Regions from separate parts of the Homo sapiens genome. Here region 2 is linked to region 1. Evidence: promoter capture Hi-C in human tissues and cell types (Jung and others, 2019). All regions are on one chromosome and are shown on one strand. Each heading gives the region's core, a stretch centred on a gene start or on the middle of the fragment in contact. The rest is flanking DNA. Distances are from core to core; before and after follow the strand shown. Region 1 holds the start of CHST3 (carbohydrate sulfotransferase 3). Region 2 overlaps ASCC1 (activating signal cointegrator 1 complex subunit 1).

Region 1 (7,864 bases), core at 3,342-5,841:
AGAGGACCAAAAAGGGGAAAAAAATACAGTAACCCATTTGAGGATGTTTGGTCTACCTGGCAATTTCTTCCCTATTCACGGTATGGTCACAAGAGGCAGCTTTGTCCCAACTTCTCAGATAAGCAGTGAGTCATGTCTCACTGGAATTACTGCAACATCTCCCTGTGTGCCCCCCCAAAATCTCCACAGTTTTCTGACTCCAGAGCCACACAGAAGGCTCCAGCAGCCTGGTACCACCCAGCCTTTGATTCCCACAGCCTAAGGTATATCCAGGCTCGGCAGAGTGTATGGAAAAAGAAGAATGCAAGCAGAGGCCCTGGGACCACGTTAGTAAGAAGCATCAGGGCTGTTTCCCTGTTGCCATGGAGAACCAATAAGGGCCTTGCAGACAGCCTGGCATGGTGGAGACAGGGTGGGTTCTGGAGTTAGACAATCTGGGTTCAAATACTGGCTTTGCAATTGCAGCAAAAACAAAAATTGACAAATGGGACCTAATTAAACTAAAGAGCCTCTGCACAGCAAAAGAAACTATCAACAGAGTAAACAGACAACCTACAGAACAGGAGAAAATATTTGCAAACTATGCATCCGACAAAAGTCTAATATCCAGAATCTATAAGGAACTTGAACAAGTTAACAAGCAAAAAACAACCCCATTAAAAAGTGGGCAAAGGACACAAACAGATACTTTTCAAAAGAAGACATACATGTGTCCAACAAACATATGAAAAAACGGTCAACATCACTAATCATTAGAAAAATGCAAATCAAAACCACAATGAGATACCATCTCATACCAGTCAGAATAGCTATTATTAAAAAGTCAAACATTAACAGATGCTGGCCAGGTTGTGGAGAAAAGGGAGTGCTGGCCAAGCGAGGCGGCTCATGCCTGTAATCCCAGCATTTTGCGGGGCTGAGGTGAGCAGATCACGAGGTCAGGAGATCGAGACCATTCTGGCCAACATGGTGAAACCTCGTCTCTACTAAAATACAAAAAAAAAAAAAAATTAGCCACGCATGGTGGTGCACGCCTATCAGGGGGCTGAGGCAGGGGAATTGCTTGAACCTGGGAGGTGGAAGTTGCAGTGAGCCAAGATCGCACCACTGTACTCCAGCCTGGTGACAGAGCAAGACTCCATCCCACCACTCCCACCAAAAACAAAAAACAAAAAACAGAGTGCTTATACACTGCTGATGGGTATGTAAATTAGTTCAGCCATTGTGGAAAGCAGTTTGGAGAGTTCTCAAAGAACTCAAAGTAGGATTACCATTCTACCAAGCAATCCCATTATTGGGTACATACCCAAAATAATATAAATTGTTCTACCATAAAGATACATGCACACGTATGTTTATCATAGCACTAGTCACAATAGCAAAAACATGAAATCAACCTAAATGCCCATCAACGGTAGACCAGATAAAGAAATGTGGTACATATATACCATGAAATACTATGTAGCCATAAAAGAGAATGAGATCATGTCCTTTGCAGCAACATGGATGGAGTTAGCGGCTATTATCCTAAGCAAACTAACACAGGAACAGAAAATCAAGTGCCCCATGCTCTCACTTAGAAGTGGGAGCTAAACATTGGGTACATCTGAACGCAAAGAAGGGAACAACAGACACCAGGACCTACTTGAGGGTGGAGACAGTGGGGAGGGTGAGGATCAAAAACCACCCATCTCGGGCCTGTGCAGTGTGTCAGACCTGTAATCCCAGCACTTTGGGAGGTGGAGGCAGGCAGATCGCTAGAGCTCCAGAGTTTGAGACCAGCCTGGGCAACATGGTAAAACCCTGTCTCTACAAAAAATACAAAAAAATTAGTCAGGCATGGTGGTGCCAGCTACTCGGGAGGCTGGGGCAGGAGGATCACCTGAGTCCAGGAGGTCGAGGCTATGGTGAGTGGCAGTGATCGTGCCACTGCACTCCTGCCTGAGCAATAGAGACCCTGTCTCAAACAAACCCAACAACTACCTATTGGGTACTATGCTTACTACCTGGATGATGAAATAATCTGTACACCAAACCCCCATGGCATACAATTTACCTATGTAACAAACCTGTATACGTACCTCTGAACCTAACATAAAGTTTAAAAAAACCAAATACACAAACACTGGCTTTGTCTCTCACTACCTGTGTGACATTGAAAAAGTTACTTAACTTTTCTGGTCCTCAGTTTCCTAATCTGCAAAATGGAGATGAAATGCTAACCTCATAGGGATATAATGATTTAATTAGAAAATGTATACAGAACTCTCGATTCACAGAGGGCATAATGAAGGTGGAAAGGTGATATAGGGAAGGAACTGGCTGCAGGGTTCCACCTGAAATTGGGGGTGCCCAAGCCCAGATCACCTCCTCTTTCATCTGAGGCCAGTCCTTGGTGCCGCCCACATGCCTTGCTAATTTCAGCATTTAGAAGTTTGAAATGCACACTGAACCTAGTCAGAGCTCTTCACAAGGGGGCAGGGGTGGGGAATGACACATTTCTTTTGGATGACATGCCCAGGCCACCCCCACATCTTTGTGCACTCTCAATCCCAAGACTACTGGCAATCCAGTTCCAGGAACACGAATGTTTCTGCTCCTCTGGGAAACTCATGCAAGCTGGCACAGGAGAACCCACAGCAATACTCAGTACAGGGACTGTGACCACTGCTCTACCTGCTGCCACCACAGAGCCAAGCCACTGCTGCAGAACACAGCTCCTAGACCCTTCATGAGACCCATCTCCAGCCAGGCCATCAGGAGCCAGGAAGAAAAACGGCTGCCCCCAAATTCTACATGTTCCCATGTTCCTCCTACCCCCAGCACATGCCCAGCAGCACGGCCCATCTCTTTCTCCACTTACCCACCCCTCTTCTCCAGCAGCCAGGAGATGGGAGGGTTGATGGAACCAACCCCTCTCTCTGCTGCAGATCTAAAGTTATTCTTCAATTGAGACCCCACAGAATCTGCCAAACAGCCTGCCATCTACCAAAACCCACATCAACCCCATCTTAGCCAGATACAGAAATGAAGCTTTTCCTGCTGCCCTCTTAGAGGGGCAGAGGCCAATGATGAGCTCCAGTCTCCCAAGGCCAGCCCACGGGACACAGTGGAACACACAGTGCCTGGGCCACTGGCCCAAGCAGATCAGGCAGGGCTCCTAGGAGCTACTCAGGCCCCCTTCTCTGCTGGAAAATCAATTTCAACCCAGCAGAGGCCCACTGGCCTTGCCGCACAGTGAGTCCATAATGAATGATAATTACCGGTGTCATTATTCATCAAGCAAGTACTGACTGAGTGCCCACTGTGCCAGGCACTATGCTAGGCCCAGGACAATCCCCCGTACATCCTGGGGCCCAGCAACACCACGCATCAGAAACCAAACACAACTTCAGGTGCAAGGAAAATAATGAAGGCGTCAGGCCTGCCTTGGTTTCTCCCTAACCTTTTAGGCTTAAATCCCCCCACCTCCCCTTACCCCGTCCACACCCAGGACTGGAATCTGCTCACCCGGTTCCCTTGGAAGTCCCTGGAGGAAGCACATCCGCTGGGGGGAAGGGTCCCTGCTTCCCTGGAAGACTGTCACGGCCACTACCCTTCTGTCTAGCGCAGCAACGGCCTGCCAGCCTCTTCCACGCTGCTCACAGACCCTGGCACGCCGGCTCTGAGTTTATGAATCACTCCCTCCTCTCTCCGGGCCTCGCCTCCGGAAGGGCTTCGCACACTCACACATCACCCAGACACCGAGTTTCCACACCAAATTCGCTCCTGCAGAACTCCGAGAACCGACTGCAACATCTGCTCCCCTTGGTCTCGGGGTTCTGGCCACAAGTTTTCAAAACCCAGGCAGCCTCTCTCCTGCCCGCTGCGCTTTGGGGGCTCCCTCTCCTTGGGGGCTGCGGGGGCAGCAGACAAAGGCCGTGGATGTGACGGAGGGGTGTGAGGACGTGCCTGCTGTAGAGGCCAAATCCCCCGCGCTCCCAGGAATGTGCATTTCGGTGTGTGGCATGTGCCTGGCCGGTGTGGGTGTGCGCAGATCAGCCTGCGCCGTGTGCGGGGTATGAGTGGCGATGAGCTGTGTGTACCTGGCAGGTGTGATCCGGTTGCAGCGGGTTGTGGGTGCCTGCCTGGGCTTTTCCCCGAGCTGGGAACTCCACCTCCCACCGTCCGCTTCGCCCCCTTCTCCCTCCAAAGTCTGGCGCGCGCGCCTGGACGCGGAAGGCGGGGGCTCCCGGCTGGGCGGCCTCCCCCGGGCTGGGCGGCGGTTCCAGGACGCCGGCGCCCCACTTACCCCGGCCGCCGAGACTCCACCGGCGGCCCCGACCCTCCGCGGCTGGGGTCCGGCGCGGGCAGCATCCGCTCGCAACTTCGCTTTCCTCCTGGAAGATCCCGGCAGAAGCGGTTCCGCGGCCCCGGCGCCCGCGCGGCCCGAGCTGTGCGTCTTCTCCGGGGCGGGCCGGAGGGATGGAGGCGCTGCGGGGCCGGTCGGCACGCTGGAAGGGAAGCGGCGCCAGGCGGGCGCCGTCCTGCGCAGCGAGCCTGCGAGAGGTCCTGCCTGGCGCCCTCCCCGCTCAGGCCCGAGCCGGCTAGCGGCGGCGGATTCCTGAACCGCGTCCAAGGCGTCCGGGAGCCCTTCTCCTCCTCCTCCTCCTCTTCCTCACCCCACCCAGCTCCCACCCCTGCGCGCCCGGCAACTTGGGAACCGTTGGCGAAGTTGGCGCTGCTCGGGCCGCGAGCCGGCCGGGCCTCTGGGGGAGGAAGGGGAGGAGAAGGAGGAGCTGGCGGGAGAGGAGAGGAGGGGAGAGAGGGGAGAGAGGGGAGCCGCCCCCGGGGAGCCGCTGTCTCCAGGACCCCTCTGCGGGCCTTTGTTCCGGGCGCTGCCCCTCGGCCCTCCAGTCCCCGGGGACTCGCTTGGGGCCGCTCGGGTATCCACGCTCTCCTGGCGAGGCTGGTGGGTGGAGGCTGCTTGGAGAACCCCCTTGGCTTCTCCGTGCCGGAGCGCCCGGGGCCGTTACGGCCGCCCCCTCCCCCGACCTTTGCCAGGGAGACCCTCTGGCTGCACGGGTTCCCCATCATCTCTGCCCGGAGAGGATCTTCCTGCTCCCCCCTGGGGCAAGTGGGCTGGAGGACGGTTTCCCTGGTTCCAAAGAACAGAGCACCGTCTCCCTGGGCGGCAGCAGGTCCCACATCCGCCCTCCTGCACTTTCCTGCGCCGCCAGCCAGTCCAAGGCTCCCCTAATTCAAGAACTGGGAAACGGGAGGGACAGAGGGTCTTCCCGGCCCGCCAGGGCTGCCTGGCATTATCTTCGGACCCTCCCAGGCAGCTGGGTCTCCGGCCGGGCTGCCAGGCAAGTGGGGTCCCAGTCGCCTCCCGTGCATGGCGTGGTCGGCTGGGCAGCACCGGCTGCGGGGTGCAAAGGCCAGCTTCTCGAGGGATGAGGTAAAGGGCTCAGAACTGGAACACAAACCGAACCTCCCTGTTCCTTTCCGAATCCTGGTGATGGCCCTGTCCCCGAGAAGGCGAGAACGTCTTGGATTCCACTTGCTGGGCATTCCTCCTGGGACTTCCAGTACGTAACGTCATGAGCTAATTCAGGCCTAAGACAGCACTCCTGACATTTAATGGGATAGTATGGGGTTTAGACAATAAGTTATTTCCTGTACAGGAGAAGTAGGAAAATCCAAAAAAGCTAAAACCTGATTATCTACACTTGGCCTCCCTCTGCCATTCTCAGCATTTACAGATGGACAGCAAATAGAGAACCAGATAGAACTAATCCTGACCCTGTTAGGGACAAGTTGCCCCAGGAACCCCCCGCCCCACACACAATGCAGCTGACCCTTACCCTGAATACTCCGAAGCTGCATTCCTGGACCCTTATCTAGGTGCTACAGCAAGGTCACCAGACTTGCTTACAGCCCAACAGGCAGCATGGGGAAGGTCACGAGAAATGTGGATAAACTTAAGTTACACCCTCTTCTAAATTCCTATATTGTAAGCGGTCACGAGATGATATGTGGTAAAGTTAACCGACAACCCCAGGGTCTCTCTCCCCCATATGAACCCCTCATTTTATAAGCTCCAGGGCTGCCTCCTCTGACTGTGGTGGAGCAGCCCGGCAGGATAAACTTACTCGCCTAACTTTGGGTCTCTCTCTTGTCCTTTCTCTCAGCTAACGTTACATTTTGGTGCCGAAACCCAGGAAGGGGACAGGCTCTGGCTGCGTGTCCTTAGAGGTGTCTCTCTCTCTCTCCCTCTCCCCCCTCCCCTCTCTCTCTCCTATCACCCCTCACCCAAGGGCCTTGTCCAGAATAGAGGAGACCTGAAGGACACCTGACTCGGTGGCTGCCTCTATTCCAGACAAGGCCTGCAGGACAGGGGACACCCTCTCTCGCCATCCTTGTCATCTGCAGTCTCTTCTTCCTCTACCCCCCACCCTCCATTCACTATGGGAGCCTCTCAGTCTACCCATCCCAAGACCACCCGCCTTGGCTGTCTCCTCTGCAATCTCAAGGCTCTCAGCCTCCATTCAGAGGTCCGTTCTAAGAGACTTATCTTTTACTGCAATACCACTTGGCCTCAATACCAATTGGACAATGGCTCCCAATGGCCTGAAAATGGCACTTTTGATTTCAATATACTTAGAGACTTAGACGACTTTTGCCATCGCAGTGGGAAATGGTCTGAGATTCCTTATGTTCAGGCTTTCTTCACTCTCCGTAACCGCCCTTCCCTCTGCCAGTACTGCTCCACTTTCCAAATCCTACTCACCAGACTTGTCTCCCACCACCCCCGTCTCCCACCACCCCCGCAACAGCCCCAGCCGACAACTCCTCTTTCTTTGACCCCGCCAATTTTGCCCCTCCCTGACAGCATCTTGATCCTCCACCAGAGCATCATGATTCTTCACGGTATGTCCCTGCTCTGGCTCTACCCATCTGTCCCCCTCTCTCCAACCACCCCGCTTCTGACTCTGAGTCCTCTCCATCTCCACCCCTCACCCGCTCTTGGGCCCAACATACTCAGCAACCAGTTCCCTTGCTTCCTCTCTGGGAAGTAGCAGGAGCAAGGGGATCATCCGTGTCCATTTCCCTTTCTCCCTCTCCAATCTCTCACAGATTGAAAAACGTCTCAGGTCCTTCTCCTCCGATCCTGATACTTATATCAAAGAATTTAAATATCTTACCCAATCTTATGAACTCACTTGGCATGATCTCTACATTATCCTCTCTTCTATACTCTCCTTCCAGAAGAGAAGGAAAGAGTGTGGCTTGTAGCACAGGCACACACTGACGATCTTCATGGGCAAGATCCTGCTAAGCCCATAGGAGCCACTGCTGTTCCCCAGGAAGAGCCTTCCTGGGAGTACCAACCCACAGACCCCAGCTGGGCGTCTGTAACTATATGATTACTTGCCTCATTGCAGGCCTTAACAAAGCTGCCGGGTAATGGCCAGGCGCTATGGCTCACACCTGTAATCCCAAAACTTTGGGAGGTCGAGGTGGGCGGATCACGAGGTCAGGAAATCGAGACCATCCTGGCTAACACCGTGAAACCACGTCTCTGGACTCTTCAGAGGACTCTTCCCAGAGTCCTCTCTTCCTGCTGTAGCTCATGATAGATTTTCAGATGTTTGGTGGGCACTCATACAGGCACCTGATTGTTACCTGAGAGACACAAGCAAATCCTATTCCCCATATAATTATCCACCCTTTGATTAAATTTAAAGGGCTATGTCACTCTCATATGAGTGACATAGAAAGGGGAATGCCTTTGTTGTACTGCTTGCTGTAAAGAATGAAATAAAAGATTAAGTTGGTCATTAGTCACATTTTGAATTAAGGCACATTCAATATTTTGTGT
Region 2 (7,864 bases), core at 3,215-5,714, 240 kb before region 1:
ACAGGCCTGCACTACTACACCTGGCTAATTTTTGTATTTTTAGTAGAGGTGGGGTTTTACCATGTTGGCCAGGCTGGTCTCGACCTCCTGACCTCAGGTGATCCACCTGCCTCGGCCTCCCAAAGTGTTGGGATTACAGGCGTGAGCCACCGCACCCGGCCACAAATGTTTTCATTTCATCCACCTTGATAGCATTCTGAAACACCTATTAAAGATAAAATTCTCCTGGAATATGACCAAATCAGGCTCTAGTGACATTTTTTCCTAAGAAACATGATTTTAGAAAGTTGTGGCTCAGTTTCCTGGAAAAAAAAAAAAAAAATCAGTGTAACAGGTCTTGGTGTGAATCTGCTGTTGCTAAGGTGTGTAAAAGTTCCTTGCATGATTCTGACTTGATAATCTTTTGATTTCTCTATATTCTAAGCACTCATTATGTGTCAAGTGACTTGCATGTTAAATTAGGTATTGGGTCTGATAAATCCTAATTAATAGGTAATATTTACTCGGAAGGCTGGGTGTGGTGGCTCATACCTGTAATCCCAGCACTTCGGGAGGCCAAGATGGGAGGATTGCTTGAGCCCATGAGTTGGAGACCACCCAGCTTGGGCAACATGGTGAGACCCTGTTTCTACAACAAAAAATAAAAATAAAAAAAATAAATTAGCCAGGCGTGGTAGTGAGTGCTTGTAGTCTCAGCTACTTGGTAGGTTGAGGCAGGAGTATTGCTGGAGCCCAGAAGTTCAAGGTTACAGTGAGCTATGATTGTGCCAATGTAATTCCACCTGGGCGACAGAGCAATATCCTGTGTCAAAAAAAAAAAAAATACTAAGATTTCTTTCTTGGGAATAATTTCTGTAGGCTTATTTGGATCAAGAAAGAAATTACCTGGCCAAACTAATTTATAATCAGAGCCTAATATTGTCAACACCTGTCCATGGGTTATGTCTCATGCTGTGGTTCTTAGCCTCAGGTGCACAGGAGAATCATCTGGGGAACTTCTGAAAATCCCAGGGCTTGGGTGCACCCCAGACCGATTAAATCAGAGTCTGTGGGAGCAGGACCCAGGTATCACTATTTGAAGCCCCCCAGGTGATTCCAGTGTATAGCCAAGACTGAGAACCACTTGACCTGGTAGGAATTTCCTCTTATGTATTCAACCAAGGAGTCACCTTGTCACTGCTTATTTGTATTATTGTAGCAAATATTTTATTTATTTTATTATTTTGAGACGGATTCTCACTCTGTTACTCGGGCTGGAGTGCAGTGGCACGATCTGGGCTCACTGCAATCTTTACCTCCCTGGTTTAAGTGATTCTCCTGCTTCGGCCTCCCGAGTAGCTGGGACTACAGGCATGCGCCACCACACCTGGCTAATTTTTTTGTGTTTTTGTTAGAGACGGGGTTTTGCCATGTTGGTCAGGCTGGTCTTGAACTCATGACCTCAGGTGATCTGCCTGCCTCGCCTCCCAAAGTGCTGGGATTACAGGCATGAACCACTGTGTCTGGCCTATAGTGAGTATTTTAGATTTTCCATGTAAACCTCTTTTCTGTCCAGTTATACTTTTAACTGAAAAGGTGCCAGTATAGGTTTAATGAGGATAGCATATGTCATGCCGCACACCTGTTGACTTTGATGGGGATGGCACCATGTTAGAGAGGCTGGGGAAGAGACCCAGAGCCAGCAAATGAGACAGAGGATTTATTGAGGGGACTTGCATAAAGGGTGGTGCTGTGGTGGTGGGCTGGACAGAACTTCAACTGCTTGGAAAAAGCATACAGTTTATATAACATTTCCACTTAGCACCCTGCCCCTAGCAGCCATCACCTGGCAACCTTTATTTAATCCAAAACAAAGGGCCTCAATCCTCTGTATGGCCTGGGTTCCATAAACGGGTCAGGGATTCAGATGTTCCTCATAGATAAAGGAATGAATCTCTGGGTTGGAATGAATCCAAGCCGGATTCCGTAGTTTGGAACTCTGAACACATAATTCCTTTTAGATCATAGGGTGATTCTCAGGTAGGCTTAAGTTATTACTGTCAGGGTCCTTCTCCCGGTATGCTTAATCTACTAACGTTAGGGGCATCTGCCCTACAGCATGGACTGTATGGAGCTCTGTGCCACTTATTGGGAAGCTCTTTCATATATGATCACATTTAATCCTTACGACAACCTTATGACAAATAGGTATTATTCATTCCATTTTAATTTAATTTAATGTTTATTTTTTTTTGAGACGGGAGTTTCGCTCTTGTTGCCCAGGCTGGAGTGCAATGGCATGATCTCGGCTCACCACAACCTCTGCCTCCCAGGTTCAAGAGATTATCCTGCCTCAGCCTCCCGAGTAGCTGGGATTATAGGCATGCGCCACCATGCCCGGCTAATTTTGTATTTTTAGTAGAGGTGGGGTTTCTCCATGTTGGTTAGGCTGGTTTCCAACTCCTGACCTCAGGTGATCCACCCGCCTCAGCCTTCCAAAGCACAGGGATTACAGGCGTGAGCCACCATGCCTGGCCTCTTTTTTTTTTTGTTTTTGAGACAGAGTCTCGCTCTGTCACCCAGGCTGGAGTGGAATGGCACAATCTCAGCTCACTGCAACCTCTGCCTCCTGGGTCCAAGTGATTCTCCCGCCTCAGCCTCCCGAGTAACTGGCATTACAGGCATCTGCCACCATGCCTGGGTAATTTTTGTATTTTTAGTAGAGATGGTGTTTCACCACGTTGGCCAGGCTGGTCTTGAACTCCTGACCTCAGGTGATCCACCCACCTTGGCCTCCCTGGGATTACAGGCGTGAGACACCACCCCCAGCCAAATTTAATTTAATTTTATTTAGTTATTTTTTTGAGACGGAGTCTCCCTCTGTCGCCCAGGCTGGAATGCAGTGGTGCGATCTCTGCTTACTGCAACCCCTGTCTCCCAGGTTCAAGCAATTCTCCTGCTCAGCCTTCCAAGTAGCTGGGATTACAGGCGCCCGCCACCACACCCTGCTATTTTTTTTTTTTTTTTTTGAGATGGAGTTTCACTCTTGTCACCCAGGCTGGAGTGCAGTGGTGTGATCTTGGCTCACTGCAACCTCTGCCTCCCGAGTTCAAGCAATCTCCTGCCTCAGCCTCCCGAGTAGTTGGGATTACAGGTACCTGTCACCACGCCTGGCTAATTTTTGTATTTTTAGTGGAGATGGGGTTTTACCATGTTGGCCAGGCTGGCCTCGATCTCCTCACCTCAGGTGATCCCCCCCACCTCGGCCTCGCAAAGTGCTGGGATTACAGGTGTGAGCCACCGCACCCGGCATTGAGCCACCTTGCCTGGCTTTGCTAATTTTTGTATTTTTGGTAGAGACAGGGTTTCGCCATGTTGGCCAGGCTGGTCTTGAACTCCTGACCTCAAGTGATTTGCCCGCCTCTGCCTCCCAAATTATGGGATTACAGGCATGAGCCACTGCACCTGGCCTATTTTTATTTTTTTAGAGACAGGATCTCACTTTGTCACCCAGGCCAGAGTGCCACTGTGTGATCATAGCTCACCATAGCCTTGAACTCCTGGGCTTAAGGGATCCTTCTGCGTCAGCCTCTCACTTCATTTTGATAAGTGAAGAAGTAGGCTTACAGTGGTTATATGAATTCCAAGGTTTGTTTGATTCTAAAGCCTTTTAAACCTCAACCACTTTGCTTTCTAAGGTGCTGAAGCCTAGATTATTAATAGCACTTTGAACCACTGCTTTTTGTGATAGGCTTGTTCACTAGCCACATAGTAACAAACTGGAGCCTGACAGAAAGCACTCCTAATTGGTAAGGTGGGAAAACAAAGACCTCACAGAGTTTGGTGCCCTACAATCTCTATCCCAACACACAGGAAAACCACTTGGAAATTACAGACTTCCAATCTTCCTCTAAACATCTTATTTTTAAAAACTGGCTTACTATAATAGATCTTAAGGGAAGTAATTGGGCTTTCTTATCCCACGCAAAAACTAACGAATAGTTTTAGACATAGTCATCCGTAGAATTGGGTACTGTAATTGAAGTCATAGAGGTTAAAATAACGTTGATGACAAGGAGTTCTTAACTTGATAGCCCTGTGATGGCCTCTTAGTGCTTTATAGACTCTGAAACTTCTCTCTTGGGATTCGGTAGTCTCATTCACTTGAACACATCAAACGACTGTGGGTTCCAGAAGATAACTTTGGATTGTCAGAATATTTATACTTGGAAGTCCAGGCAAGTAATGTAAATGAGTCAATAAGTGATTTAAGTGGGAGTGATGGGGATTGTGAGCTCATGTCCCGTCTTCATGGGGTAGTCGAGAGTTGGCTGTAGCTCGCTGTTGCCATGAGTCCTCAGATATTCTAATTTTTCTATTGAAAAAAATTGAAAAAAAAATTTATTTTTTGAGGCAGAGTCTCGTTCTTGTCGCCCAGGCTGGAGTATAGTGGTGCGATCTCAGCTTACTGCAACCTCCACCTCCCGGGTTCAAGTGATTCTCCTGCCTTAGCCTCCCAAGTAGCTGGGATTACAGGCACCCTGCTGTCACACCCAGTTAATTTTTGTATTTTTGTAGAGATGGGGTTTTGCCATGTTGGCCAGGCTGGTCTCGAACTCTTGACCTCAGGCAATCTGCCCACCTCAGCCTCCTGGAGTGCTGGGATTACAGGCGTGAGCCACTGCCGCCAGCCTAAAATATTTTTTTAGAGACGGGGTCTTACTCTGTTGCCCAGGCTGGTCTCAAACTCCTGGTCTCAAGCAGTTCTCCCACCTCAGTCTTTTGAGTAGCAGGGATTACAGGTGTGAGCCACTGCACCTGCTGGCCAGCTTTTCTTTCACTTTATTGCAGACCCAGATTTTAAATCTCATTTTGAGAAGCAAACGGGTGTTGGGCATGGTTTTTCTATCTCTGCATTGAATTGGCTATAGGGCCAAAAACTCATCTTTGCCAATGACTTTACTGCAGCATGTTCTAAAGCTAGATGACTTGTAATTTCTTCCGCAAATATTGAGCTTTTACTGAACTACTTTTCTGTAAGGGAGTATCTCTTGTCACAAAGGATTTAAACATAATGAGGTTCTTTATTTTGGTACATTTTGACTTAATCTTCTTTTAATTACTTTATGTTACAGGCATATAGTTGGAAAGAGAGGGGACACTAGGAAGAAAATAGAAATGGAGACCAAAACTTCTATTAGCATTCCTAAACCTGGACAAGACGGGGAAATTGGTGAGACTCAGTAGATATAAGTTACATTTGAAGTCACTTTTGCATGTTTATGGAATAATGTAACCAACTGCAGTGTTTAGTAACTATGTTTTCTGTGGGGTTCTAGCTATGGGCTTTTTCTTTTCTTTTTTTTTTTTTTTGAGACGGAGTTTTGCCCTTGTTACCCAGGCTAGAGTGCAGTGGTGTGATCTCGGCTCACTGCAACCTCCGCCTCCCGGAATCAAGCGATTCTCCTGCCTCAACCTCCCTAGTAGCTGGGATTACAGGCATGTGCCACCACGCCTGGCTAATTTTGTATTTTTAGTGGAGGCGGGGTTTCTCCATGTTGGTCAGGCTGGTCTCGAACTCCTGACCTCAGGTGATCCTCCCCTCTCGGCCTCCCAAAGTGTTGGGATTATAGACGTGAGCCACCGTGCCCGGCCAGCTATGGGCGTCTTTATGGTTTATCAGTACCAGTCTCCCAAATGAGGAAAGATGGAATTATATAACCTTATCTTGATTGAGTACCTGGGCCTTAATTTTATACTTTACCATACATTGATGGAATAAAGCTTCCAGATTTCACTGTGTATTAGGAGATTTCTTTTCATGCTTTGGTAACTTGAAATGGATTTGTGAATTGTTTCCAATTAGAATTAGAGAAAATCAATGAGATCAGTGAATATAAAATAAAGTTCAGCCTTTTCCATTGTGCTCTCAATTTTTTACCCTTGATTTTGTAGACTAGGAAGGAAATTATAAGAGTAATGATTAAAATAATATAACTTGACTCAAATAACTGTTCTGATAAGGAAAAATAGTTTAGCAGTATAAATCAAGTTAGAAAGTGTCTGTACCAAGCCTCAGTGTAAACCAAGGGCATAGGCTTTTGTTGTATGTACAATGGCTTTGAGTGAGGGGCATTGTTAGGACAAAACTGTAAACTCATTCTGGAAGGATGGAATTTTTTTTTTTTTTTTGAGACAGAGTCTTGCTGTGTTACCCAGGCTGGAGTGCTGAGGTGCAATCTCAGCTCACTGCAATCTCCGCTACCCAGGTTCAAGCGATTCTCCTGCCTCAGCCTCCCGAGTAGCTGGGACTACAGGTGTGTGCCACCAAACCCAGCTAATTTTTGTATTTTTTGGTAGAGACAGGGTTTCGCCATGTTGGCCAGGCTGGTCTCAAACTTCTGGCCTCAAGTGATCCACCCACCTTGGCCTTCTAAAGTGCTGGGATTACAGGCGTGAGCACCATGTCTGGCCGATGGAACTTTTTTAAAGTCAAAGAGTGCAGCAACCTCCAATAATTCATTAACCCATTTTCTTTTTCTTTTTTCATTTAAAAATTTTTATTTATTTTTTATCCAGACAGGATTTCACCATGTTGCCCAGGCTGATCTTGAATTTTTGGTTTGAAGTGATCTGCCTGCCTCAGCCTTCCAAGGTGCTGGAATTACAGGCATGAGACACCATGCCCGGCCTTTTAGTCCTTTATTTTATTTTATTTTATTTTTGGAGACAGAGTCTCTGTTGCCCAGGCTGGAGTGTAGTGGCATGATCACAGCTCAGTGTAGACTCTACCTCCTGGACTCAATCAATCCTCTCATCTCAGCCTTGCATAGCTGGGTCTACAGGAACACGCCACCACACCTGGCTAATTTATTTGTATTTTTTGTAGAGACAAGGTTTTGCCACATTGCTCAGGCTGGTCTTGAACTCCTGAGCTCAAGCGATCTGCCTGCCTTGGCCTCCCAAAGTGTTGGGGTTACAGGCAAGAGCATGTCGCCCAGGCTAGAGTTGATTGGCTCCATCATAGCTCACTGTAGCCTTGAACTCCTGGGCTCAAGCAATACTTTTCCCTCGGCCTTCCAAGTAGCTGGGACTACAGGCGCTTAGCACCATGCCCAGCTAATTTTTAATACTTTTTGTAGAGATGGGGTCTTGCTATGTTGCCCAGGCTGGCCTTGAACTCCTGGGCTTGAGCGATCCTCCTTGGCCTCCCAAAGTGCTGGGATTATAGACAAGAGTCACTGCGTCTAGCCCCATTTTCCATAAATGTTCATAGATTGTATTGTTTTTGCATAAAAAATTATAAGTACTCTTTTTCATTTTATGTTATGTGAGAATAATCACCTTGACTGGGGACAGTGGCATATACCTGTACTTCCAGCACTGTGGGAGATTGAGGTGGGAGGATCACTTGAGACCAGGAGCTCCAGGCTGCAGTGAACTGTGTTCATGCCACCACACTCCAGCCTGGGTGACAGAGTGAGACCCTGTCATACACACACACACAAAAGAATAATCACCTTGACAGCAGATAAGTAGCAATTGACTTTTTGGACAACAGTGCTGTCCCAAAGAGCTTTCTGTGTTGATGAGAATGTTCTATATCCATGCAGTGTAGCACAGGAGCCGCACGTGTCAGGTACTGGTCATGCGTATGACTTTGAGTACTTGAGATATTGCTAGTATGAAAGGAACTGAATTTTTTTTTCTGAATTTTTACTTTTACTGAATTCTGATTAATTTAACTAACTAGCTGCATGTGGGCTCCCATATTGGCCAGTGCAGTGACACAGTTTTCTCTAGGTAATGTCAACAAACTCTAGCATTAGAACTTTTAACAGCATTTGGAAGGACTTTTATTAAAGTAAATATTCAGTTTATTAGA

What was found. The method cuts DNA at HindIII sites, captures the fragments that hold promoters and counts their contacts. A contact is called where the count stands out against the background at its distance.
Region 2: a contact is called between a fragment that was not itself captured here and the fragment with the promoter of CHST3 in region 1, in 1 of the 25 tissues and cell types used here (hippocampus).

Annotation. Positions count from the first base shown.
Region 1 is chr10:71,961,122-71,968,985 of GRCh38, reverse strand. It overlaps CHST3 (carbohydrate sulfotransferase 3), which reads right to left and starts at 4,591. Exons shown (of 3, transcript NM_004273.5): 1 at 4,292-4,591. The HindIII fragment of the contact is 9,967 bases long and covers 622-7,864 here.
Region 2 is chr10:72,200,775-72,208,638 of GRCh38, reverse strand. It overlaps ASCC1 (activating signal cointegrator 1 complex subunit 1), which reads left to right. Exons shown (of 10, transcript NM_001198800.3): 4 at 5,115-5,212. Among named protein-coding and RNA genes, the nearest start is that of ANAPC16, 11 kb to the left of the region's middle. The HindIII fragment of the contact is 9,463 bases long and covers 1-7,864 here.